Regions from separate parts of the Homo sapiens genome. Here regions 1, 2, 3, 4 and 6 are each linked to region 5. The links are contacts of gene promoters, found by promoter capture Hi-C in blood cells and fetal thymus (Javierre and others, 2016). All regions are on one chromosome and are shown on one strand. Each heading gives the region's core, a stretch centred on a gene start or on the middle of the fragment in contact. The rest is flanking DNA. Distances are from core to core; before and after follow the strand shown.

Region 1 (3,525 bases), core at 173-2,672, 1.4 Mb after region 5:
AAAGATGAATGGTTACTAGACCCAATATTGATTCATCTGGAAAATTTACAGATGCTTCTAGAAAGTAAATCTGTTGATCTGGGTTTCAAAGGTTTGAGTCTATACCTTCAACATGCAAAGCTTATGACTCACGGCTTAGAGGAATGGTTATTCAGAGTTCTTGGGATAAGGGATGGCTGTGTGTGTGTATATATACATATATTTATAAACATAAATATAGACCTTTTTCAGATCAATATTTTCAAAGGGATAAAAGAATGAACTAGCCTCAGAAGACAAAAAAAAGCTGCAGAAGAGAAAAAAACGAATATTGCAATATACGAATATCTAGGAAATGCAGAGCACTTCGTCGGAGCTCAATAAATTCTAGCTGAATTGACTTTGAGAGCCGTTTTAGTTCTATACCTCACTGCTCAAACCGCAGGCATCACCATGCAACTTATCGGTTTACAGCTGTGCTGTGGGTACCATCTGAAAATCTGGAAATGATTAGCTTATGCAAAACAGCCATAACCCCCAGAAACCAGGCGCTCTCCACCACTTTACCATTTAAGTCTTACACCGCTCTTGCGACTGTAAGCGAACTGACAAACATCTACTGACCAAATGGGACCTAGATTTTAAACAAAGACTGAAATCTGGAAGGCTACAAGTAAACAGAAGCTGAAACTAGCTCACCTATTCTGTTGGCCAAGGATTTCGTGGAATCTGCTAAACTTCTCTTCCCAAAAGATGATACCTATCCCCTGGGAGGTGATAATTTAATCACCTCGGTGGCTGAGTGGGTGGGGCCGAGTCAGAGAATTCTTTCAAGAAATCGCTAAACGTTTGACTTGAAGATCGATGAGAAGCCAGCCAAAAAGCTATCAAGCCAAGGACCCCAAACCCCCTAACTCCCTTACATACATATTTCCTTCCCAATCTCTAGGCTGAAGTTTATGTGGAAGCCAAAAACTACCAGCGCTAGAATCCACAGCGTGCCAGGCACAGCTCACTCACGGCTTTCACGCAATTCTAGCTACAACACCCAAACCGCAAAGTCCCTGTTGCAGGGGTAAATAAGCCGGCGAAACCCATTCACAGGAAGGCTCCCGCGTCTCGTCCCAAGCTCTTTTCTCCCGAGTTCCCAAGAGTATAAACCCAAGAAAAGGAAATAAGGCGTCCGGGTCTTTCCTCTCCCGGAGCCGATAGGCGGCTGCCCAGAAGTTCCATGGGCCACACACATTCCGAACTTGGAAGACTAGGGTCCCCTACATTGATGCCCCAGCTGCTACTTACCGGCACATTGTTGACACCTTGTCCCTTGGAAGCTATCATGAGAATTTCTCTGAAGTCCATGTTGGGCCGAGGCGGGAGAGACTGGGCCAGGCACTCGGAAAGGACTGACAGCGCACCTAACCGAGGCGCCCAGCTACAGCCAACTGCACTGCCTCGGGAGCCCCACTCCCACCCCGCCTCTGCGGGACCACTTCCGGCGCCTTCCTATGCCGTCTGCCCGCCCCCTTCCCTCCACGGCCTATATCCTTTCAGGGCCGCCACAGCGCTCGCGAGTCCCTGCGTAACTTCCGCTTTTAGGCCGAGACACGTACAAACGTGATACGTGGCTGCTGGCGTCGACCCGAGGGGCAGGGACTAGGCATTTTAGCAACCAAGGGGGTGTGGCTAAGCGAGAGAGCGGCTTCCCTGGTGGCCCGGGCGCGCGGTCTTGTCATCTTGTTGCTCCTTGTGAGCGCTGGGTAGAGAAAGTGAGGGGGTAGAGGGTTTACTTGCCAGGCCTGGGTTCTCTGGGTGTCACGGGTAGGCGCTTAGATCCAAAACGGCGGCGCCACAACAGCTGAACAGACGGATCTCGAGCCGGGGTTTGGGCTACTTGTGTCTAGGCGCTCGCGAAGCTGCGCAGGCGCACACAGCAGCGCCGTGGTCCTGTCTTGGATGCCCATTACTCATCAAATTCGGCCACATGCCGTGCGCTTACCTCCTACTCAGATGCACGCGTGCCGGGGATGGGGGCACGCGCTTACTTCTTTTGCCCCGTTTAGAAAGTAAGTTTTATGTGGAGCAGCCAACCTGTGTTTTTGCTCAGGCAATGGATTAAGGAATTTCACATACAGACCCAGCCTTGACATAACTTTGGTGTACTGATGAACATATGCTTCATATTCATATTCATTGGGATCCTAGTCCTGACTTCTTTTGGAGAGTTATCTTGGATCTGTAAGGTCATTTCGACTTAGCAAAAACACTGAAAATAATTAGGCAAACCTGGGTCTGCAAGTGGGAACCCGCCAGGGGATTGATAGCAAACAGGTACTCGGGATCTTTTCGGTGGGATGGAAATGCCTCCAAACTGGATTGTGGGGATGGTTGCACTATACATGTACTAAAAATCGTACACTTAAGACGGGTGAGAATGATACAGTATGTAAATATGTCAAGCTGTTAAAACATGCTAGACAGGCCGAGCGCGGTGGCTCACGCCTGTAATCCCAGCACTTTGGGAGGCCGAGGCGGGCGGATCACGAGGTCAGGAGATCGAGACCATCCCGGCTAAAACGGTGAAACCCCGTCTCTACTAAAAATACAAAAAATTAGCCGGGCGTAGTGGCGGGCGCCTGTAGTCCCAGCTACTTGGGAGGCTGAGGCAGGAGAATGGCGTGAACCCGGGAGGCGGAGCTTGCAGTGAGCCGAGATCCCGCCACTGCACTCCAGCCTGGGCGACAGAGCGAGACTCCGTCTCAAAAAAAAAAAACAAAAAACATGCTAGACAAAGCTGCTGGCTCTTACTCTTTGATGGTTTAATGCTGCGAACGTAATTCAAAATCAAAGCTGTTGGAACTTTAAGTTATTTTGCGCCTTAAAAGAATGTTATTATGGAACCTGAGCTACATAACAGGCAGCTGCGTTTGTTCCTCTGATTATAGATTAGCCTTTCTTTCCTACATCGTTTTGTGAAAACACAGGGAGAAGACAGCCATGTACAAACCAAGGAGAGAGACCTCAAGGTAACCACACCTTGATCATGGAATTCTAGCCACCAGAATTGTTAAGACAATAAATGTCTGTTGTTTAGGCCACCTAGTCTGTGGTACTTTGTTATTGGCAGCCCTAGCAAACGAATACACTGGCATATGGTGTTTTCAATTAATGCCAACCATCATTTCTCAAGGAAGCTCTTCCTGAGCTATCTCAGGGCCCCTTTTATAAATTCTTACAGCCCCCCAGTATTTCCCTTCATGCAACATTTTACAGTTTGTAATTACATATTTGTTCTTTTTTTTTTTTAAACTATTGGCTATATCTGTGATAGACAGAGCTATGAAAATGGGCATAAGCCTATTTTACCCATCACTATTTCCATCACCAGCACAGTTCCCTGCTAATGCACATAAAAGTTGCAACAAAGATTTTTTGACCAAATTAATGAATCGATAAGTGGAAAGCTCCCAAGATTCAATATTGTAGTACTTAGCATACATTGAGCCATTACTATATGCTTAGTGCTTGACATGGATTATCTGACTTGAT
Region 2 (4,047 bases), core at 508-3,007, 1.1 Mb after region 5:
CCCTAGATCCCTGAACATTTTCAGCCATGGAAAGAAAGCACTCACTCTCATGAAGCTGCCAATTCCAGTCCTCCAAAGGGCTCACTATTATAAGGTTCTTTTTAATACTATGCTGAAGCCTGATCACTTAGAGCTCTACCATTATTCCTAATTGTATGTAGCTTCTACAGCTGAAGGGAACAAGCTGTCTCTTTCCAAAACAATCCTTCTGTATTTGAAAAGCATTATCAGGTCTTCTAAAAATTTAACATTCCCAGTTTCTTCATCACTCCTGACATGACATTTTCCAACCCTCTGTTCCAGTCAACCTTCTACAGAGGCACTGTAGTTTGCCTAAAAATGAGGTGCCTAGAACTGAGCATAATACTCCTTAAGTAGTTAGATGAGCCCAGAATAGAGTAGAAACACTAACTTCCTGGATCTAGACACTAAGTTTCTATATTACAACCTAAAAACAGTATTAGTTGTGTTTAAGTGGCCATGTTACACATTGATTCAACAGAGCAAGTGGTCAACTAAAACCCAAAGAAATTGTTTACATAAATAAAATCTTCTTAGCCAGTAGCTACATACAGTAGAACTGAGCTCAAATTGAAAGCTGCTATTAATCAAATGCAACAATGGATATAAAAAGTACCTAGAAATGTACAAACAGTATAAAGAGGAACAGCAGAATGCTGATAATTGTTCAAGTTGCGTTAAGTGTACATGAGGGTTCAATTTATTATCCTACTTTTGTCTGCGTTTGAAATTTTCCACAATAAAATTTAAAAAATATATACATAATATTGTACAAGCCTTCAACAGCTCTATTTCTTGAAAATCTGTTATCTCCTCCCTGCTTCTTTTTCCAGCCTTATTTCCCATCTTAACCTCTCTATTCTCCAACTACATTGGACTCGACTCTTTTTTTCTTTTTCATTCCATAAACTTGCTGTGCCTCCATGGTTTAATATATGATGTTTATGGAATCTTCCCCCATTTACCAAAACCCTACCTTTCTGCAAAGCTGAGTTTAAATGTTACTTCTGTGAAGGCACTCTACCAAAAACTAAGAACATAGAAGTTGGCGACAAATGCTTAACCAAAGTAAATGAAACAACTTTTGGGAGACTGGCTTGCCCAAGGATCACAGAGTTCATAAATGGTAGAGCTGAGATTAGAATACGCGTCTCCTGAATCCAAATCTCATCTTTCCATTATCGTAAAATAGTTCAGTGTTTGTTGCTCACACATCAAATGCAAACATGTTTCTCTTTTGCCCCAGTAGGTGCGTGGAGGAAGAGGAGAAAGAAGTAAGAAAGATAGCAAAAATTGAAGAAATGAGAAGGGGAAGTTGCAGACTGCCTCATTTTCACAATGGGATCTTTCTATCCAAGAAGAAATGATCAGAAAACAACTCTCTGCCTCAGACAAATGGCGACTGACTCATTTATACATTCATTCATTCAACATTCTGAGTGCCTACTATGTTCCAGGACCTGAACACACCGCTAGAGACACAGGGATGAACAAAACACAATCCCTACCCACAAAAAGCTCCTTGCCTAGTGGAACTACTACCTTTTTAACAGCAGTAACTTTAATATCTTGAGATTTCTTGAGAGGAGACCCAGTAACCAATTTTCAAAGCCAGGCTCACAGACCAGCAGCCCGGAGGTCCCAGCCCAGCTCCACCACATCCAGGGCAGTACCTCGCAGCTCTCAGTAGATCGGATCTTGTCTCCCGGCTTAGCGCCGGGGAACTCACCGCGCACTAAGAGCGGAACGTGAACTTCAGTCTCCCCTCGCGTTCCTCCCCTTCCTTGCTGACGTCATCCAGGAGAGCCGCAGACTGGAAACAACGCTACTAACGGCACTTCCTCATCACGTGACGAGTCACGCCCCTCCTTCCGCGTGGTCCCTCCCCCTCAGGCCGCGGTCGCGATTACGCTCTCTACGGCCTGCGACCGCAGGGCCGTTGCGGGCTGGAGACACGGCGCCGACTGGAACCGGAGGAGCTCTAGGCCAAATGGTTGGGCCAGCCAGGATCCCAGGACCCTTCGCCGCTCGAGACCGGAGAGAGGAAACGAAACAGGCGGGAACCCGTGGGGGAGGGAGGGAACTAGCGGAAGGTGTCATGGCGGCCGCGCTCTTGAGTCACGTGCCCAGGGCCCGCCTTGCTACTTCCGGTCACGTGCCCTCAGACTCCTCGCAGCCAGCGATGGAGGCGAGACCCCCTAGTAACAGAGGCGGTGGCTACTGCTGCGGCCACTGGGTTTCGGCCTCTTCCCAGCAGCGGCTCTAAGAAGCGCAGCGGAACTCGACCGGATCCAACCCAGTTAGTTACTTCCTGTCTAGAGTTGTAGCTTCCACCTGGTAAGTTTAGACCGAAGAATGCAGGCGGGCGGGTGGGTGGGCGGGTGAGGAGCTGACAGGCCTGGGGGCCGCTGGACGGCGTGGATTCTACCCCTGTTCCCAGCGTCGCTGTCGCCGTCCTCCCAACGCCCAAGCCTGGCGTCTTGTTTGCCCTTATCCCGAGGCGAGGAAGAGGCGACCCCTAATCTACTTGTCTAAAGGAAACCTGCTCTTAAATTGAGAGCAGGTTTACCCAAAGCCAGGATCAGATTTGGCTTATGAGAATGAAGTGGAGGCCTCTCCCAGACAGAGAAGCCCTTCCCGTCAGGAAATGTGCTGTTGAGTCTGGGATTCTGTAAGAGAAAAGCTGTCACCTTGTTGTCTGCACACCTTTTGCTTCCACCTGTCAATCTTACCTCTCTTAAAAACCTTAACACGTGCCAGTCCACACACTCCTAGTTTTGGTCATTTGATTGTCGTGTAATGATGAAAAATAGACCATGAGTACCTGGATATATGTAATTATTTTGTAAATCCCCCAGTGTTCTCAAAGGCCAAATTAAATAAGGAGGTGACTTTTCTTATTTTTTTTTAAGAGACAGAGTCTTGTTCTGTCGTCCTGGCTGGAATGCAGTGGCGTGATAATAGCTCACTGTAACCTCGAATTCCTGGGCTCAAGCGATTCTCCTGCCTAGACCTCCCAAAGCGCCAGAATTATGCTACAGTGCCTGGCCCCAAATGACTCCTAAACTCCAATTTTAGCATCAGTAAAATGGGGATGGGGAAAGAAGATATGAAAAATACACCCTTTGTCCATTTGAAGACCCAGTCTTAAAAACAAAAACAAAAAAAAAACTGAGTGGTTTGAATGAAATGTGCTTTGCAGTGAGTATTGACTCCATACAAACCAATATCCAGACTTGTGATTTTCAAACATTTTAAAGGAGTGGAACAATTTCTCCCCATGAATTTTTATCTGGAACCCAATATATAAAGCAGCATGCTCTGGTGGAACTAAATTTAAAAGGGCCAGGCCCCACCACCCCACTTAACTTCTATCCTAGAGGCCACTCCTTGGAACACAGTTTGAAAACCACTGAACTGGACTTAGGTAATTAAGCCAAAGTTGCCAACCTTAAGATTTTTTAAAAGACAAAACCAGAGCAGTTGAGATGGAGAGGTCACAACCGCAGGGAAGGTAACCTCTAGTAGCAGGCCTTGGACTTAGAGAAGGACTAAACTCTGGAGAGAACTTTGTACCTGTTAGCAGGCTTAAGTCCCTCATTCAGAAAGGAGAAAAAAGAGATGGTCTGCTATCCTCACTCAGCCGACATTTTTTTTTTTTTTTGAGACGGAGTTTTGCTCTTGTTGCCCAGGCTGGAGTGCAATGGCGCGATCTCTGCTCACTGCAACCTCCATCTACCGGGTTCAAGGGCTTCTCCTGCCTCAGCCTCCCCAGCGGCTGGGATCACAGGCGCACGCCACCATGCCTGGCTAATTTTTGTATTTTTGGTAGAGACGGGGTTTCACCATGTTGACCAGGCCATTCAGCCGACTTGTAGCAGTGCAACAGATTGGTAAGTTTGAGTCTCTCTTAGGTGATATAAAATACACATTGCAGTACAAATGTGAAAAAAAATCAAAGCAAATTCAGAGAGGGCTTTTGAAAAATACTAGGAAACTTGGTGCAGTGTGGGAGAAGAATCAGTT
Region 3 (3,890 bases), core at 1,336-3,835, 1.5 Mb after region 5:
TTTGTTTTGTTTTGTTTTGGAAGGATTCCACTGAAAAACGTAAGTTTGAAACTTAGTGAGCTGGATGATCAATCCCTTCTAGCTCTGAACCCTGGACACTAAAGAGGGAAGATCTTGATCCTTTCAAACTTCAGAACTCTGAACACAGACCTACCTAGTGTGAAGAAATGGGAGGGAGCAGGATGGAGAGCAGGATGAAGTCAGCAGGACTTGCCCCCAAGCTCTGAGGGGAGGGGGAAAGTGCCATGTAGATGTGGAGGAGGGGAAGGGAAGACCAGGCCCAGTCACAAGAAGGCTGGTCACTGCCTTGTGGGTGGGTTTGGACTAGGCTTTCAGGGGTCCAGGTCTGGGATTCCCTATCATGCAATCACATCCATCCCCTTGGTCCCTGCTGTATATCACCCTCAGGAACGGGAAAGGATGAGTTACGTTTATTGCCCCATCCCTTCACTGAATGTTTACATTAACAAACACCAGAGAGCAAACTGGGCTTCCTACACTGGGCCATGCAGAGGACAGGCCAAGAAACTCCACATCATAACAGCCTCCTGATGCCTGGGCTTGGCTGGAGCTCACATGAGGTGCTTTGATTTCTTCTGCAGACTCTCGGTGATGGATGCTACAACTGACTTATCATCTTTGTCTGAAAGAGCAAAGGAAGTATTCGTTATATTAATGATGCTGGCGACCAGGGAAATTCCAAACTGCTGGACTTCCTATGCAGGAAACCAGGAGCTGGACCCTGGGACCCTTAATCTTGGGTTGGCAGAGTGTGAAGGGGCAAGAGCTGCCATTTATCTAGCACTTAATATTTGCCAGACATTGTGCCAGGCAGTTGTGTACTGTCTCATTTAAGCCTCATAGTCCTATAAAGAAGATGAGAAAACAGGCTCAATGAGGTAGCTTACTAAGGTCACATGGCTGGTCAGTGGCAGAGCCAGGGCCCTGGGCCCATTTGCTGTGCTTACAAGCAGATTTGAGTTATCAGGGATCTCTTTAGCTGTGGAATGAAAGCTGGATAGCACCCACAGTGCCTTCCCTGGCCTAGTTCTTTTACACAGCTCAGCAGCCTCTCTGGAGATATTGTCTCAGTGCCAGACACTTAGCTAAGCACTCGAGAGACAGAGCAACAGGACAAGGTCCTTTCCCCAAAGAAAGGTATCTATAACTGGATAAAAAAGGTCTGTAACCATGGAGACCACAGCAATGGAGTGTCATGGAAGGTTCAGGAGTAGCAGAAGGTGAGATGAGAGGTGGGGGAGGGGGAAACCTTCTTGGTTTGGGATTTTACCATGAGAGGAAAGCTGGGGGAAATTTAAGCAACAGAAAGCAAGGCAGGCCAGCTTTGCATTTAGAGTTCATGCTGCTAGCTGTGTGGCTATGAAGACAGTAGACTGGGAAGGAATAAAATGCTTCCCCCTATGTGTGCACACATGAGTAGAAACATGGCATGCATGTACAAAAGGGAGGGTTCCCTTCGCTCCTTCCCTTGTTTGTGCCCCCCACCGGTCCTTATCCTAGACCAGTTTTAATTTTTATTGCACATCAGAATCACCCGCAAAATTTTGTAAACATATAGGTTATTTCCAGAACCGTGCCAGAGAGATCGTGATTGGTGAGTCTGGTTGAGTCCTGATCACCAGTATCTTTTTTCTGAAGGCAGGTCTAGGCTCACCAAGAGTTGCAAACCACATCTTATCTAGGGATTGAGAACTCTCATGTCTGCAGGGGCCAGGCATATAACAAATGACATCGAAAGGATGGGAGAGTGGTAAGAACTGTGGCCAATTAAGAATGTTTGCACCACCTGTTGGCAGTCAGATTAAAAAACGGTGCCAGCCAAATAGTTGACCAATGGCCCACAAGACCAGCCTTTTGCGCCTCTCCCCCTCCTCGAGGCCGGACCCCGCGGCGCCCTCACCATAGACGGTGAGCGTGCAGCTGCTGCGGTCCTTGCCCAGCTCGTTCTCCACCAGCACGCTGTAATCGCCGCTGTCCTTGAGCGTGCAGGTGGGGATGACGAGGGTGCACACGCCGCTGGTGGAGTTGTACCAGAACTTGGAGTTGGCCGTGATGTTGACGTCGCCCTTGTAGAGGGTCACTGTGGGCCGCGGGTTCCCAAGGAAGGCGCAGGTCATGGTGCAGTCCTGGCCGCGGAGCACCGTGTGTGGCTTGAGGGGCGTCACGAAGCGCGGCGCGTGGCGCCAGTCCTTCTTCTCGTAGGGCTTGAGCTTGGCGCTCAGGTCCTGGACTGCGCGGGCGGGGCGGGGCAGGCCGTGAGGGCGCCCCAAGGCCCCCACCCACCACCCACGTCTTACAGTTCAGCTTACACGGAACCCCGAGGACCTAGGCCACATTCCCAGCGCCACCAACTCTGGGGGCCCAATGTTACACTGGTTCTTAAGGGCTCCCCACCCGCCCCCAGGCCTCCCCCGACCCCCCAGCCCCGTCCCCAGCCACTCCAGGGTTCTGCCACCCAAACCACGCTTTCCCACACCCCTGGGGCCGAGATGTCATTCCAGCGCCAGCTTCCTGGACCCGGTTATTCCCAGCCTTTAACTCCGCCTCCAAGCTTCCCCTACGTCATATCAGCGACCACAGTCTCCCCTCTTATCCCTTTAGCTCCTCAGTTCGAGTTTCCCGACGCGGCCCCCACCCTTAACCCCTAGCCTCCAGGGATCCCAGACATCCTCCCGGCTCCCTAGAGCCCTCCCCTGTTCTCAGCCCCGTTAGACCCTCCCCTCAGAGCAGAACGCGTTTGCGCTCTATGTCCCTCCGCAGCCCCTCCACCGTCCTCTCTGCCCCCAAAGGTACCTCCCCACCTCCACTTTAGTCTCACCCCTAAGTACCCCGAAGAAAGCCAATATTTCCTTCTCTCCGCAGCGTCCCAGATATTAACCGTTCTATCTCAATGGTTTTCAGATTTTATCTTGCCTCTTGGGTACCCTTTGGGACCCTTATGTCATCCCCACCATCAGGGCACCCAGACTTAACCCTAACTGCAAGTCCCAGACTCACTCTGGTCCTTATTGATGAGCCAGGTGTCCCTGGAGTCAAGTGGCTCACTGTCACCGATTTCATTCCGAGCCACCACTCTGAAGTAGTACTTCCTGCCTGGGAGCAGCCCCGTCACTGTGTACTTGTTGCTGAAGACACGCTCGGCTGCCGTGTACCAGGTGGCTGTGCTTGCATCCCGCTTCATGATGATGTAGTGAGCCTCACCGTCCTCCTGCACATCTGGGCTGTGGTTCCAGGTCAGAGTCACTGTGTTGGGGACTTCCTCAAACAACCGTAGGTTTGTGGGGGGCCGAGGGAAATCTGGAAGAGTTGGAAGATCTGTCAGCGACCTTGGGGCACCTGAAGTATTATGTCCCCACCCCAGCCATCTGCCAAGTCCGATGGAAGATAAGATGGGGCAAGTCTCAGGCAGCTGGTGTCTTGGAGTCGGAAAACTATTTCTGAAGTCTGCTCTGCCATTTACTAGCCTCGTGACCTGGGGTAAGTTACTTATCTGAGACTTCTTTCCTCAATTGCAAAATAGAGCTGACAATGACTATTTCGTAGAAATAGTGGGTAAAGAGACTGGCATGTAGTTACTGTTCAGTAAAAATGAATCCATTCCTTCCTTGGGGGTTTAGAGCTTTATTTTAAAGCTTCCAGCTCTCTTTAAGCAGTCACCCCAATTTTTAATGGATTCATCTCCATTTGTCCCTCCTGCCCCTCCACCCATTTCTACTCTCTCTGCCGACCATACTCTGTATGATAAAGTCTTGCTCTGTGGTGTCAAAGAAATCTTCATGGCCCTAAGGCATGACTTTCCTGTGGTAGGAACTCAAGCGGCACTGGGGAGCTGTGCTTTGGAGAGTGTACAGGGATGGGTCTTGGAGGCC
Region 4 (3,865 bases), core at 951-3,450, 1.2 Mb after region 5:
ATTTGTGGAGTCAAATACTGGCTGTTGTTCTGCCTAAGAAGCCTGAAGCTGTGCTTGGAGCAAGCTGTTGCTAGGTATCATAAATTAGGGGAATGAAGACTCTACCTAGTTTATCTTCACAGGTCATCTCAGAGTGCCCCAACCCAAGCCTTTCAGGTGAAAATTCTTCGTCTCCCCAGCCAACTTCAGCTCTCTGCCTTCTGCACACCTCTTCCCAGCAGCAGTGGTCACATTTGGTAGGCAGGCAGGGGCCCAGCCCTGACTGAGAACACTGTTGCAAAGACTGAGAAACCGGAAAACACTGTGGCAATCTGCCCTGCCCTGAGGTACTCTGAAGAATCAGTGGCCCACCCCTAAACTTTCCAGCTGTGTGTTTGAGGTGAGAGCCCCATTTCAGAACCTAGAGTGATCTTAGAATCTAGAGTGATGGGAAAACTGTTAGAACATGCAAGCATGCCCTGCTATTTTTTTTTTTTTTTTGAGACAGGGTCTCACTATGCTGCCCAGGCTAGTCTCGAACTCCTGGCCTCAAGCAGTCCTCCCACCTCAACCACATTGGTGCTGGGATTACAGGCATGAGTCACTGCACCTGGCCCCTTGTGCTATTTTGGAGCTGAGGTTAGAGTTTTCCGTCAAAACCAAGAAACTCAGTTATGGATCTATCTCAAAGCTGCACTGGGCTGCTGCTGTAGGTTCAGGGAGTAAGTAAAGCCATCCACCCCTTTGGGCTGAAAGTTCCAGCCCTCTAATTCCCTAATCATTTGGTCTTTCCCATGACTGGCTCCTTCCTGAGGCTATCTAAGACTCCTCATTCATTAACATTAAGTCAGGGAAAAAGGCTCTTTATAAATAACAAAAGACATTCCTATCAGAAAATTCAGGAAATTTTGGCATACTCAAGGGCTTACCAAATATATTTCATAATATACCCCACAGTGGGGAAGTATTGGTACAAATTAAAGAAGAGATGGAGGAGGGCGGGCTAGGCAATGGAATCAGCAAGAATACAGGCCCAGAGGTAAGTATGATAAGAAAACAAAAAATTGAGCTGGGCACGGTGGCTCACGCCTGTAATCCCAGCTCTTTGTGAGGCCGAGGCGGCCAGATCACTTGAGGCCAGGAGTTTGAGATCAGCCTGACCAACATGGTGAAACCCCGTCTCTACTAAAAATTACAAAAATTAGCCGGGCGTGGTGGCGCCTGGCTGTAATCCCATCTTCTCAGGAGGCTGAGGCAGGAGATTCGCTTGAACCCGGGAGGCGGAGGTTGCAGTGAGCCGAGATCAGCCCACTGCACTCCAGCCTGGGCGACAGAGCGACTCCGTTTCAAAAAAAAAAAAATTAATAATTAAAAAAAAAATCGCAGGGCAAGTGGGCGCGCTTGTAGTCCCAGTCACTTCGGGGAGCCGAGGTGGGAGGATCGCTTGAGCCAGAAGGTCGAGGCTGCAGGAAGCCATGATCACGCCACTGCCCTCCAGCCTGGGTGACAGAGTGAGACCCTGTCTCGAAAAATACCAAAAAACAAATAAACAAACAAAAAACCAAAACCAAAAAAACAAGCCACTGACAGTTCTTGGGTATGGTTGAGACTCGAGATGAGATGCCAGTGGGGTGGGCAGTAGAAAGTGCAGAATAAAATGTACATTTGAACTGAGTCACCCTGCAAGGCCTGAGAGGCCAAGGCTTCACTGTGAGTGGGAGCTGGTAGGCTTAGCAGCAGAGGGAAAAGCAGCGTCGAGTTTTGGAGGTCACTCGACTTAGGTAAGAACAGACTGACTGACTGCTAGGCATTTTCTTCCTTTCGTTCAACAAATATTTGTGGAGTGCCTATTACGTGCCAGAAGCTGTTCTGGACACTGAGAAACAGGGATGAAGAAGAAACAGATCCAAGCCTTCCTGAGAGTAACCTCCCCAGGTTTCATGGATGAGGAAACTGAAGGTCGTCCTGACTCAGGCTCATGGCTCCGACCCCGGCTTCTGTGGTTGGAGGGCAGCACCTTACTTAGACTCCCAGCGCACGTGGAGCAGTCTGCCGGTCGGTTGTCTGGCTGCGCGCGCCACCCGGGCCTCTCCAGTGCCCCGCCTGGCTCGGCATCCACCCCCAGCCCGACTCACACGTGGGTTCCCGCACGTCCGCCGGCCCCCCCCGCTGACGTCAGCATAGCTGTTCCACTTAAGGCCCCTCCCGCGCCCAGCTCAGAGTGCTGCAGCCGCTGCCGCCGATTCCGGATCTCATTGCCACGCGCCCCCGACGACCGCCCGACGTGCATTCCCGGTACGGTAGGGCCCTGCGCGCACGGCGCCAGAGGGATGGGCGGGTAGAGCCAACTGCCTCTGGTTCTGCTGGCCTCCGCTGCTCGCGAAGGGATTCCTGCTCCCGGGAGGTGTAGGAGCCGCTTTCCAGAAGCACAGCCCAGAGACGTCTGGGCGGCGGCCCACACAACGCATGTGTTCGGAGCTCGCCGCGCTCTGCTTTTGCTCTAAGCGGGAACCATGGCTTCTGGCCACGCTGGGGAACCGAGGAGGTGGCCGCACCCAAGCAGGGGTCGAAAGCCCGGGTGGATGCGGAACAAGGATATGATAGGCCTTAAGGGTGGGGGATACCTCTGGGCTCGAAATCGGCGGGCGGTGCAAAACTCGAGGTCCAGTTCTCGGAGCCCATAGAGCCAAAAAAGCCTCAGCTTGTCCGGGGCGGGTTCTTGAAAGACGGAAAGCGGCTGAGTACCACGCGGCTTGCATTTTTCTCTTGGGACGCTCGAGAGGTGGGCTCCGTGAGGGCAGCTGCTGCCTGCAGATTATAGGGAGCCCTTTGCGCATTTATTAAGAAGCTACTGGTGTATCTCGGGCTGCGCTAGGCACGGCGCATGCAAAGATGAAGCAGGCAGCATCCCAGCCCTTCCGCACCTCAGACGGTCAGTTGAGTAGGATCCGCCGGTACCAACTCCTCCTTTTAACAAATAGGGAGACCGAAAGCTAGGAGACAGTCAGGGATCTCTAAGTTCCCAGTGAGTAGGAGGCAGAGGTGAGGTGTAGAACTCGTTTTTGCATGTCTCTCGCCTCTAGACGCACCCTTCCCTCATCCCATGCCCTCCCACCTCCGCCCCTACATTAAAGGTAGCATTGGATCCCGGGGCCGTTCAGTGAAGCTAGCAGGTGTCCGCAGGAACTCCCTTCCCCCTGCCAGGCTAGAAACCTTACAAGGCTGTCTAGAAATAGCAGTGATTTGTAAGGAGAGACCCGGCTCCAGCTTGGTGACTCTGGGCTGACTGCCTGCCTAGAGGTCCTCTCGGATTTTTGCCCTTTGGAGTGGTGTCAAAACTAGACGTGATACTTTGGGGATGCAGCCTGTGATATTTCCTCCAGCGAATGCAGTGCAGGGTTGGATTAACAAGGTGGAAAGAATTCGAGGGTTCCACCAAGTAGCTATTAACTCTAGGGCTGCAGGCCTCAGGCCTTCTGCAGCTATTTCTACACTCCCTGTACTGAAACTATTTCTTCATACTGGGCCTGACAGGCCTTTGCAACAAGGATCACGGCCGAAGCCACACCGTGCGCCTCCCTCCCGGTTGGTTAACAGGCCCTGGTTTCTAGTATTGCGATTTAAAGTCTGGCGCTGGCTGCGCGCCAGACCTGGGAGGCTGCCAGCTAGGCTTCACGTTGCTGGCGTCTGCTTCGGGGCATTCATTAGGTCTGAAGTCTGAATCCCAGCTCCCTCCCTCTCACCCACTGAGCTGCATAGCTCCAGATTGCCTCTGCTTACGGGCGGGGCTTCTCAGCCTTCTGCCTTCTGGCCCGATGCCCGCTTCCCAACGGCCGGAGGCCGCTAGACTAATCGGCTTCGCCCTGCGCGCTGTAATGCGCATGCG
Region 5 (3,501 bases), core at 217-2,716:
AAAAAAAAGCACCATTCTGCTGGGCATGGTAGACCAGCCTGGGCGACACAGTGAGACCCCATGTCAATTAAAAAAAAAAAAAAGAGCACCAACCCCAACTATGGCAGAGCTGCTAAAGGAGTCTCTTGTGGAGACTTGAACCACAAGCCAAGGAGGCAAAGGTACAAAGTCTCTCCTGGAATTAGTTCCTGGACTTCTGTGCAGCCTTCCCTCTTTCTACTATGTCTTCACCGTTCCCCTACAAACAGCTTTCTTCTTCTTGCATCTCTTATATGCTGTGGCCTTTGATGCTACAATAGATTTAAAAATTTTCCCAACAGAGCTTTTCTGCCTGAAACCCACCAGGAAAGATTTCAGGACATTCTTTAATAACTAATCTTGTTCAAAGAGGCAGGCCTCCTTCGTTTCACTTAATTCAAACCCCCACTGTTCAAAATAAGAATATAATTATAACCTCAATTTCTATCGGGCCAGTATAGGAAAAGAACTACAACAGGCTCTCTCTTCCACGTTATGTCCAGACTTTTTTCCTTAGTTTCTCCTTCCTCATTTCCCTCCTCAATCCCTCCTCCCCCAAAAAATAATTCCACAGCTAGAGAATGTCGTTTTTAAAGCCAGAAATTCAGTGAGGAAAATAAGTATGTGCCTTTTTCTTCAATTATTTATGATTCCTCCGTCACTCAGGAAGAGTTAAGCTAGTATTTTTTAATCTGACCGCTCTCTCAGAAGGATGATGCGCTAAATACACACTGAAAGAATAGTGTTCCCAAAGCAAGTGGATTCGCGGCTAAAGGCAACGCGGTGGGAGTGGGGGGTCCGGGAAGAAGAAAAAGTATCCTTGGCCCCCAGAGCCAGAGATGGGACAGGAGGTGAAAGAAGGGGCCGTCACTGAGAAGTACAACACACACACTCGCCAGAACTAACAATCTGCCAAGAAAATAGGACCGGCCACTGCGGCTCCAGCCCGGTCCCGCGGGACAAGGCGGGGGAGGGGGGCCGGCGGCCGGGGGGCCTGCCCTCCTTCTGTGGGACAAAACTAACTCCCTGGCGCACCTCCGCTCCCGAGAAGAGGGGCCTGGTGGGGACGCGGGCTCCTCGCACCTCCAGCGCAGCACTTGCTCACGGCCTGGGTGGAAGCAAGGCCCGGAGGGAGGGGGGAGTCGGGCTGGGCAACGCCAAGAGCACGGGATGGAGGGTCAGACGCGGGCACCCAAGGCACTGGGGGCCGCGACAAGAGACCCTTCCAGCCCGGGAACCCCGGGGCCCCTCTCCACCCTTGCAGAGCAGGACCCCGAATATCGTCCCCAGCCGCACCGACCGCTCCTCACCTCAAGCTGCCTGAGCCTCCGCCTCTACCACAACCTGAGCCGCCGAAGCCGCCACAGTCCGAGCCATTTTTCCCCTCAGCTGGCTCAGCCGCCGCCGAAAGCTTCGGCCGACTCCACAGCCAGCCAAGCGCAGCACGTCACTTCCGGACAGGGAAGCACCGCCTTCCCCGCCCGGACTTGTTGCGAATTGGCTGGCGCGGACGGCCTACCTGAGCTGGCGGGCGGGGCTTGGACGCTGCCGGGGTGGCGTGAGCAAGGGAGCTGGGGCGCTGGGGCGCACGGGCCCGGGGGACCAGGGTCTGGCTCTCTCCCGAGGAATGCTGAGCAGGCTCTGGACGCCTCTCCGTGCACACCCCAGACCTGGGGAGGGGAGCTCTCCGGACACCCCAGCTGGCCGCCCCTCGGGCCCTGAGTCCGAAGACCCGCTAAACAGGGCCCGGGCACTGAAGTACCCTATTGTTCTCATCCCCTCTCCCGGGACCCCGCACCCTCCTCCATCTAGGCTGAGGTTCCCAGATTTGTGTCTTGGCCCCTGGCGGCGCCGAGATTACTTTGTGATTGGAAGACTGAAAGGAACAGGCAAGACTTAAACTCGTCCACTCCAACCAGTATTTACCGAGGCCTCACGGTGGGTCAGGTGGTATACGGTGGGTAATTAGTAGCCTATCACGTGGTTTCTGTAAAATGCTTGATAGCACGTAAAACGCTTTCAGGTCGGCGTCTCGTTTCATCCTCACAACAGCCAGGTAAGGAAGATAACCCCCTGATAATAACTCACAGCCAGACGGCTCTTTCTACATTACAAAGTATTTTCACATGCAACCTCCATAATAATATATTCTTATTGAGAATTTAATGAGATTATGCTTGTAAAGCGTTTGGTCCTCACGTGTTAGATCTAAAAATTACGTAACCATGGGAAGATATAGGAAAATTATCCCCATTTACAGATGGGGCTTCTGGGGCACAAAGATGTTAAGGGGAGAGGAACGATTCCATAGCGTTTTACAACAAGATTGTCTTTTAAGCAGTAGGAGAAGGGGGTCCACACCATCCAGACGTTCACAATCTGATGTGGCAGACTGATTTAGGCTGCATTTCTCAGCCTAAACTAAAAATTATCAGCCTATATGATATACGCATAATTAGAAGGCTCTAAGAGAAGTTGAACTTTCAGCAAATAACTGGAAAGAAAGAAATTGGCCTGATTTGGCAGGGACGGGGGTTGGCGAAAGGGGGCTAGGGCAATGGGGAATGTGGAGTGGATGAATCCCTCATAGCGCTGTAATAAACATGCCTGCACCTCCGCAGGGATGGTAAAATTGGATGGAGTTTCTATTCTATGGGGAATTCTAGAAACAAATGTGATTATTTCTTACGGCTGTAGCTACTGGCTGTTGTACACCCCCCCCCCTTCCAACTCCTATCTTTCCCCCAACCCCGCCCCTCCTCTATGCACACACACTTCCAGGCAGGCTACACACTCTAGAAGAATGTCCCTTAGAAATCAACTTAGTTCCGCAGCATTGTTCTGCTTTATCTTCTGATCAAAGGAGGAATTTCTAAAATTGGCAGCAGCTCTTTCACAAGATTAAAAAGGGTGGGGAAAGTGATTTATCTCAGGGTAGCTTCCTAGCTTCTGCTCCAGATCTGAGTGTGCCTTCAGGAAAGAAGGAAGAGGCCTTGGGAGAACACTGAGTCTTCAGGAAAGAGTAACTATTTGTCTGTCTTTTTTTTTTCTTTTGTTTTCTTTCTTTCTTTCTTTCTTTCTTTCTTTCTTTCTTTTTCTTTCTTTCTTTTTCTTTCTCTTTCTTTATTCCTCTCTCCCTCTCTCTCTTTCTTCCTTTCTTTTTTTTTGATCCAGCGAGACAGACTGGATTTTTTCTTCTAATTTTTTTTTTTAATGAAACGTATTTCCCCTGAGTCTCAGCAGCAGAGGGCCCTGGTCCTTGAGTCACTTCCTTGTTGCAGTTCTGAATTCATTATTTTATTATAGCTTTTGAATGACTGATACATGGTAGGCTCTGATCAACCAAAAGGTTCCCAATAAGGTGAAGAGAAAGAAAAGGAGTTTGATAGTTTTCCAGATTCCAAAAAAATTAGCTTTCACAAGTTGCCAGGTGTCAAGAATCTGAACAGGTAACCCTCTCTCAGCATATCTCATCTGTCAGCA
Region 6 (3,533 bases), core at 652-3,151, 1.4 Mb after region 5:
AAATACAGCAGAGGCCAGAATTTGCAGGATGGAGTGCTAAGAAGAGGGATCTCCATGGAGAAAGCTCTGTAGATTTCCACAGGGGCCCTTATAAGTCTTTGGCTGAGTTCTGTCTGCACATATATGGGATAAAACTCGATGAGGCCTGGAAAAGATCCACCCAAAAGCAGTCGGCCAAACACTTCTTGGAGTTCCTGAAGGGCAGGGAATTGTGGAACATTCCACAGATTTGGAAGATCTATGCCGGGCACAGTGGCTCACACCTGTAATCCCAGCACTTTGGGAGACTGAGGCGGGCGGATCACCTGAGGTCAGGAGTTCGAGACCAGACTAACCAACGTGGAGAAACCCTGTCTCTACTAAAAATACAAAATTAGCCGGGCGTGGTGGTGCATGCCTGTAATCCCAGCTACTCAGGAGGCTGAGGCAGGAGAATCACTTGAACCCAGGAGGCGGAGGTTGCAGTGAGCCAAGATCACGCCCTTGCACTCCAGCTTGGGCAACAAGAGCAAAGCTCTGTCTCCAAAAAAAAAAAAAAAAAAAAAAAAAAGCTCTAATACAATCAGCCTCAGAGAAGGTGCTCAGAGAAAATGGTCATTAACTCAGCAGTGCGGATATTAACCCTAGAGTAAAGGCTGCTCCTGGCCTATCATAAAGCTTCAAACAAGCCTCAGAAGAATCAAACTGATCGCAAGTAACTTAAGTGCACCTTAGAATAAAATTTAACACTGTTGAATACAACAAAATCCAGCACTCGGCAATAAAATTTACCATGTTCAACATCTAATCAAAAGTTGTAAGACATTTAAAGAAGCAGGAAATATCACAACAGGCCAGGCGCGGTGGCTCATGCCTGTAATCCCAGGACTTTGAGAGGCTGAGGCGGGTGGATCACCTGAGGTCAGGAGTTCGAGACCAGCCTGGCCAACATGGTGAAACACCATCTCTACTAAAAATACAAAAATTAGCCAGGCGTGGTGGCGGGTGCCTCTAATCCCAGCTACTTGGGAGGCTGAGGCAGGAGAATCACTTGAGCCCAGGAGGCGGAGGTTGCAGTGAGCTGAGATTGCACCACTGCACTCCAGCCTGGGCGACAGAGCAAGACTCTGTCTCAAAAAAAAAAAAATTGTAGAGATGAAAAATACATTAAATGTCCATGATGTTGTAGCAGAAAAGCAAAAAATATCTTTGGTGACCTCTGAGAGGGTGTCTAATAGTGGGGTGGGGCTAGAAGTCAGAATGTAATGCATGGAAGAGGCGTAGATTGGAAAAAGCTTTGAGTATGGACCACTTGTTTAGGAAGTTTGGTCATAAAAGGAAATTAAGAAATAAGACAGGGAAGGAGCCACAGTATCATCTGGAAGTTTTTTTGAGGAAAGGACAGGGGTACCTGTGGCTTCATGATGGCCAAGAAAAGAGAATCAATGGAGAGGAACTAATCCAAGGTGATGAAGATGTGGATATACCATCATGCTGAGGATCCCCTTGACATGGGGAGAGGAGGTTTTGCAGGGACAGAAATAGAGACATCTGTCTCATTTACCTGTAATTCAGTTTGTTTCGTTCACATGTCGTACACCTAGCAGCAAAACACCTTTCCAAATCTCTGCCTCTAGTGTAAAGAGCCCAGCTGCCCAAGAGGCAGCTGAGTCCTAAGTCTTGGCCCTGATCTGGAGCATCAGCTATGTGCTGTAGTGCGGGTCACTTAGGCTGTAGTCTAAGCCTTAGTTTTCTGATTAGTGAAATGGGGTTAACAATAATGCCTACTTCATAGTGTTGCTGTTTGCTGCTCAGCTGCTGGTCTGGGGGCAGTGTCTCTGGTGTGTTTTGAGTCTGGGCCATATGGTCAATGATGTCACAATGCCCTACTAGATTTCAGCTTCTCCACTAGGGAGTTGTGGATCCTTTGGAGCCAAAGACTCGAACAGACATGCGAGACCTCTACCAACTGAAGGTTTCGTGAGCGCACTCCTTTGCCAAGATCTTGGTGAATAGTCTTTCACTGTGCAATTTTATCTTAGAAATTGTTTTACGTTTGATCATGATTGTGCTTGGCTGGATGTTTTTTGTTGGACTTGTGTGTTACATGGGCACGTTTCCAGAGTTGATGGTAAGTAATGGCTCTGCCTGTAAATCCCTGGTGGTCAGTCCTGTGCTGGCTCATCTTCCTGTCTGGGTTTTCTGACCAAATGGGAAAGATAGTTGAGGTCTCACCACTAACTGGAAGTCAGAATGTGATGGGAACAAAGTTAGTGTCCCAGGCTACCGGGCTACTTCCCATCCCACTAGGGACATCCTTTTTTATTTTTTATTTATTATTATTATTATTTTTTGAGATGGAGTTTTGCTCTTGTTGCCCAGGCTGGAGTGCAGTGGCGCGATCTCGGCTCACTGCAACCTCCGCCTCTCAGGCTCAAGCGATTCTCCTGCCTCAGCCTCCTGAGCAGCTGGGATTACAGGCATGCACCACCACGCCTGGCGAATTTTGTGTTTTTAGTAGAAACAGGGTTTCTCCATGTTGGTCAGGCTGGTCTCAAAGTCCTGACCTCAGGTGATCCACCCACCTCGGCCTCCCAAAGTGCTGGGATTACAGGCATGAGCCACCACGCCTGGCTGGGGACATCCTTTTTTTTTTTTTTTTTTTTTTTTTGGAGACGGAGTCTTGCTCTGTCGCCCAGGCTGGAATGCAGTGGTGCGATCTCGGCTCACTGCAAGCTCTGCCTCCTGGGTTCATGCCATTCTCCTGCCTCAGCCTCCCGAGTAGCTGGGACTACAGGCTCCCACCACCATGCTTGGCTAATTTTTGGTATTTTTAGTAGAGACGGGGTTTCACTGTGTTAGCCAGGATGGTCTAGATCTCCTAACTTCGTGATCCGCCTGCCTCGGCTCCCCAAAGTGCTGGGATTACAGGCGTGAGCCACTGCGCCCGGCCAGGACATCCTTTTAAGTCTTTTTTTGTTTCCCCCTCCCTTGCATATATAGCTGTACTTGTTTCAAAGCACTATGGAATTTGCAAGGGGTCTGCTGGAGACCGTATTTGACTTGCGGATTGCAGGCCAAGTGGATCAGTGGTTATTGGTAGGAAGGGGGACGGTAGGGATTGGTGGGACCTTTTAGCAGCCCTTCTGGTCACCACACAGAGTGGTTACCCACTGGGCCAATGAGTAGAGCCATCTCTGCCCTCAAATTTTCTTTCTGATTCAGCCTCCAACTCTGAAGTGGCAGGAGAGGTGGCCTGTTCAGGAGAGCAAAACACAACTGAGGAGGCGGGCTTTAGGTGAAGATCTGCTGCAGTAAGTGGGTGGTCAGGTCTGGTGGGTTGGATTCCTCCCTTTCCAAAGTACTTGGTAGCACCCTGAAGTCTCAGTGGAGAATGTTTATTCCTCTGGAAAATATAATAAACTGTGGAAGGGGAAATGATTTGGTGAGTACTGCTGAGGACAGCAGGCCAAAGTTGTCTATTAATAACCATGTCTCATAGGTGTTGTTTTGAAGACTGTTCCCATCTATTATTTTTCTCCTCACAACACTGT

The links. Contacts are between HindIII fragments. The CHiCAGO score rates a contact against its expected background, and 5 or more counts as called.
Region 1: the fragment with the promoter of SPTY2D1 here is called in contact with the fragment with the promoter of PIK3C2A in region 5 in 5 of 17 cell types (fetal thymus, total B cells, erythroblasts and 2 more); the score reaches 12.6 in fetal thymus.
Region 2: a contact is called between the fragment with the promoter of HPS5 here and the fragment with the promoter of PIK3C2A in region 5, in 7 of 17 cell types (total B cells, fetal thymus, M0 macrophages and 4 more). The highest score is 11.9, in total B cells.
Region 3: a contact is called between the fragment with the promoter of IGSF22-AS1 here and the fragment with the promoter of PIK3C2A in region 5, in 8 of 17 cell types (fetal thymus, activated CD4 T cells, total B cells and 5 more). The highest score is 20.7, in fetal thymus.
Region 4: a contact is called between the fragment with the promoter of LDHA here and the fragment with the promoter of PIK3C2A in region 5, in 10 of 17 cell types (fetal thymus, activated CD4 T cells, M0 macrophages and 7 more). The highest score is 16.6, in fetal thymus.
Region 6: the fragment with the promoter of MISFA here is called in contact with the fragment with the promoter of PIK3C2A in region 5 in 2 of 17 cell types (M1 macrophages and M0 macrophages); the score reaches 7.2 in M1 macrophages.

Annotation. Positions count from the first base shown.
Region 1 is chr11:18,632,920-18,636,444 of GRCh38, forward strand. It overlaps SPTY2D1 (SPT2 chromatin protein domain containing 1), which reads right to left and starts at 1,423. Exons shown (of 6, transcript NM_194285.3): 1 at 1,279-1,423. The coding sequence starts at 1,338. It overlaps LOC105376578 (a long non-coding RNA gene), which reads left to right and starts at 1,430. Exons shown (of 2, transcript XR_931097.3): 1 at 1,430-2,042; 2 at 2,961-3,074. RefSeq lists a silencer at 408-587 and an enhancer at 1,644-1,913. The HindIII fragment of the contact is 3,460 bases long and covers 119-3,525 here.
Region 2 is chr11:18,320,383-18,324,429 of GRCh38, forward strand. HPS5 (HPS5 biogenesis of lysosomal organelles complex 2 subunit 2) reads right to left here and starts at 1,758. Exons shown (of 23, transcript NM_181507.2): 1 at 1,564-1,758. GTF2H1 (general transcription factor IIH subunit 1) reads left to right here and starts at 2,185. Exons shown (of 15, transcript NM_005316.4): 1 at 2,185-2,358. RefSeq lists enhancers at 1,256-2,205, 1,343-2,542, 1,433-1,732, 1,743-2,162. The HindIII fragment of the contact is 9,902 bases long and covers 1-4,047 here.
Region 3 is chr11:18,703,896-18,707,785 of GRCh38, forward strand. It overlaps IGSF22-AS1 (IGSF22 antisense RNA 1), which reads left to right and starts at 2,586. Exons shown (of 3, transcript NR_186353.1): 1 at 2,586-3,254; 2 at 3,383-3,498. It overlaps IGSF22 (immunoglobulin superfamily member 22), which reads right to left. Exons shown (of 23, transcript NM_173588.4): 21 at 3,019-3,318; 22 at 1,922-2,251; 23 at 417-643. The coding sequence ends at 573. TMEM86A (transmembrane protein 86A) reads left to right here. Exons shown (of 3, transcript NM_153347.3): 3 at 1-890. The HindIII fragment of the contact is 1,081 bases long and covers 2,571-3,651 here.
Region 4 is chr11:18,392,363-18,396,227 of GRCh38, forward strand. It overlaps LDHA (lactate dehydrogenase A), which reads left to right and starts at 2,201. Exons shown (of 8, transcript NM_005566.4): 1 at 2,201-2,274. RefSeq lists enhancers at 1,496-2,160, 1,807-1,896, 2,161-2,826, 2,207-2,296, 3,561-3,865 and a silencer at 3,057-3,106. The HindIII fragment of the contact is 13,104 bases long and covers 1-3,865 here.
Region 5 is chr11:17,206,520-17,210,020 of GRCh38, forward strand. PIK3C2A (phosphatidylinositol-4-phosphate 3-kinase catalytic subunit type 2 alpha) reads right to left here and starts at 1,467. Exons shown (of 33, transcript NM_002645.4): 1 at 1,329-1,467. RefSeq lists enhancers at 734-1,257, 1,258-1,780, 1,286-1,395 and silencers at 926-1,185, 1,536-1,615. The HindIII fragment of the contact is 7,601 bases long and covers 1,428-3,501 here.
Region 6 is chr11:18,597,888-18,601,420 of GRCh38, forward strand. MISFA (mitochondrial sheath formation associated) reads left to right here and starts at 1,902. Exons shown (of 4, transcript NM_001355570.4): 1 at 1,902-2,110; 2 at 3,205-3,293. The coding sequence starts at 2,042. LOC112268073 (a long non-coding RNA gene) reads right to left here and starts at 1,660. Exons shown (of 4, transcript XR_002957242.2): 1 at 1,544-1,660. The HindIII fragment of the contact is 4,225 bases long and covers 1,273-3,533 here.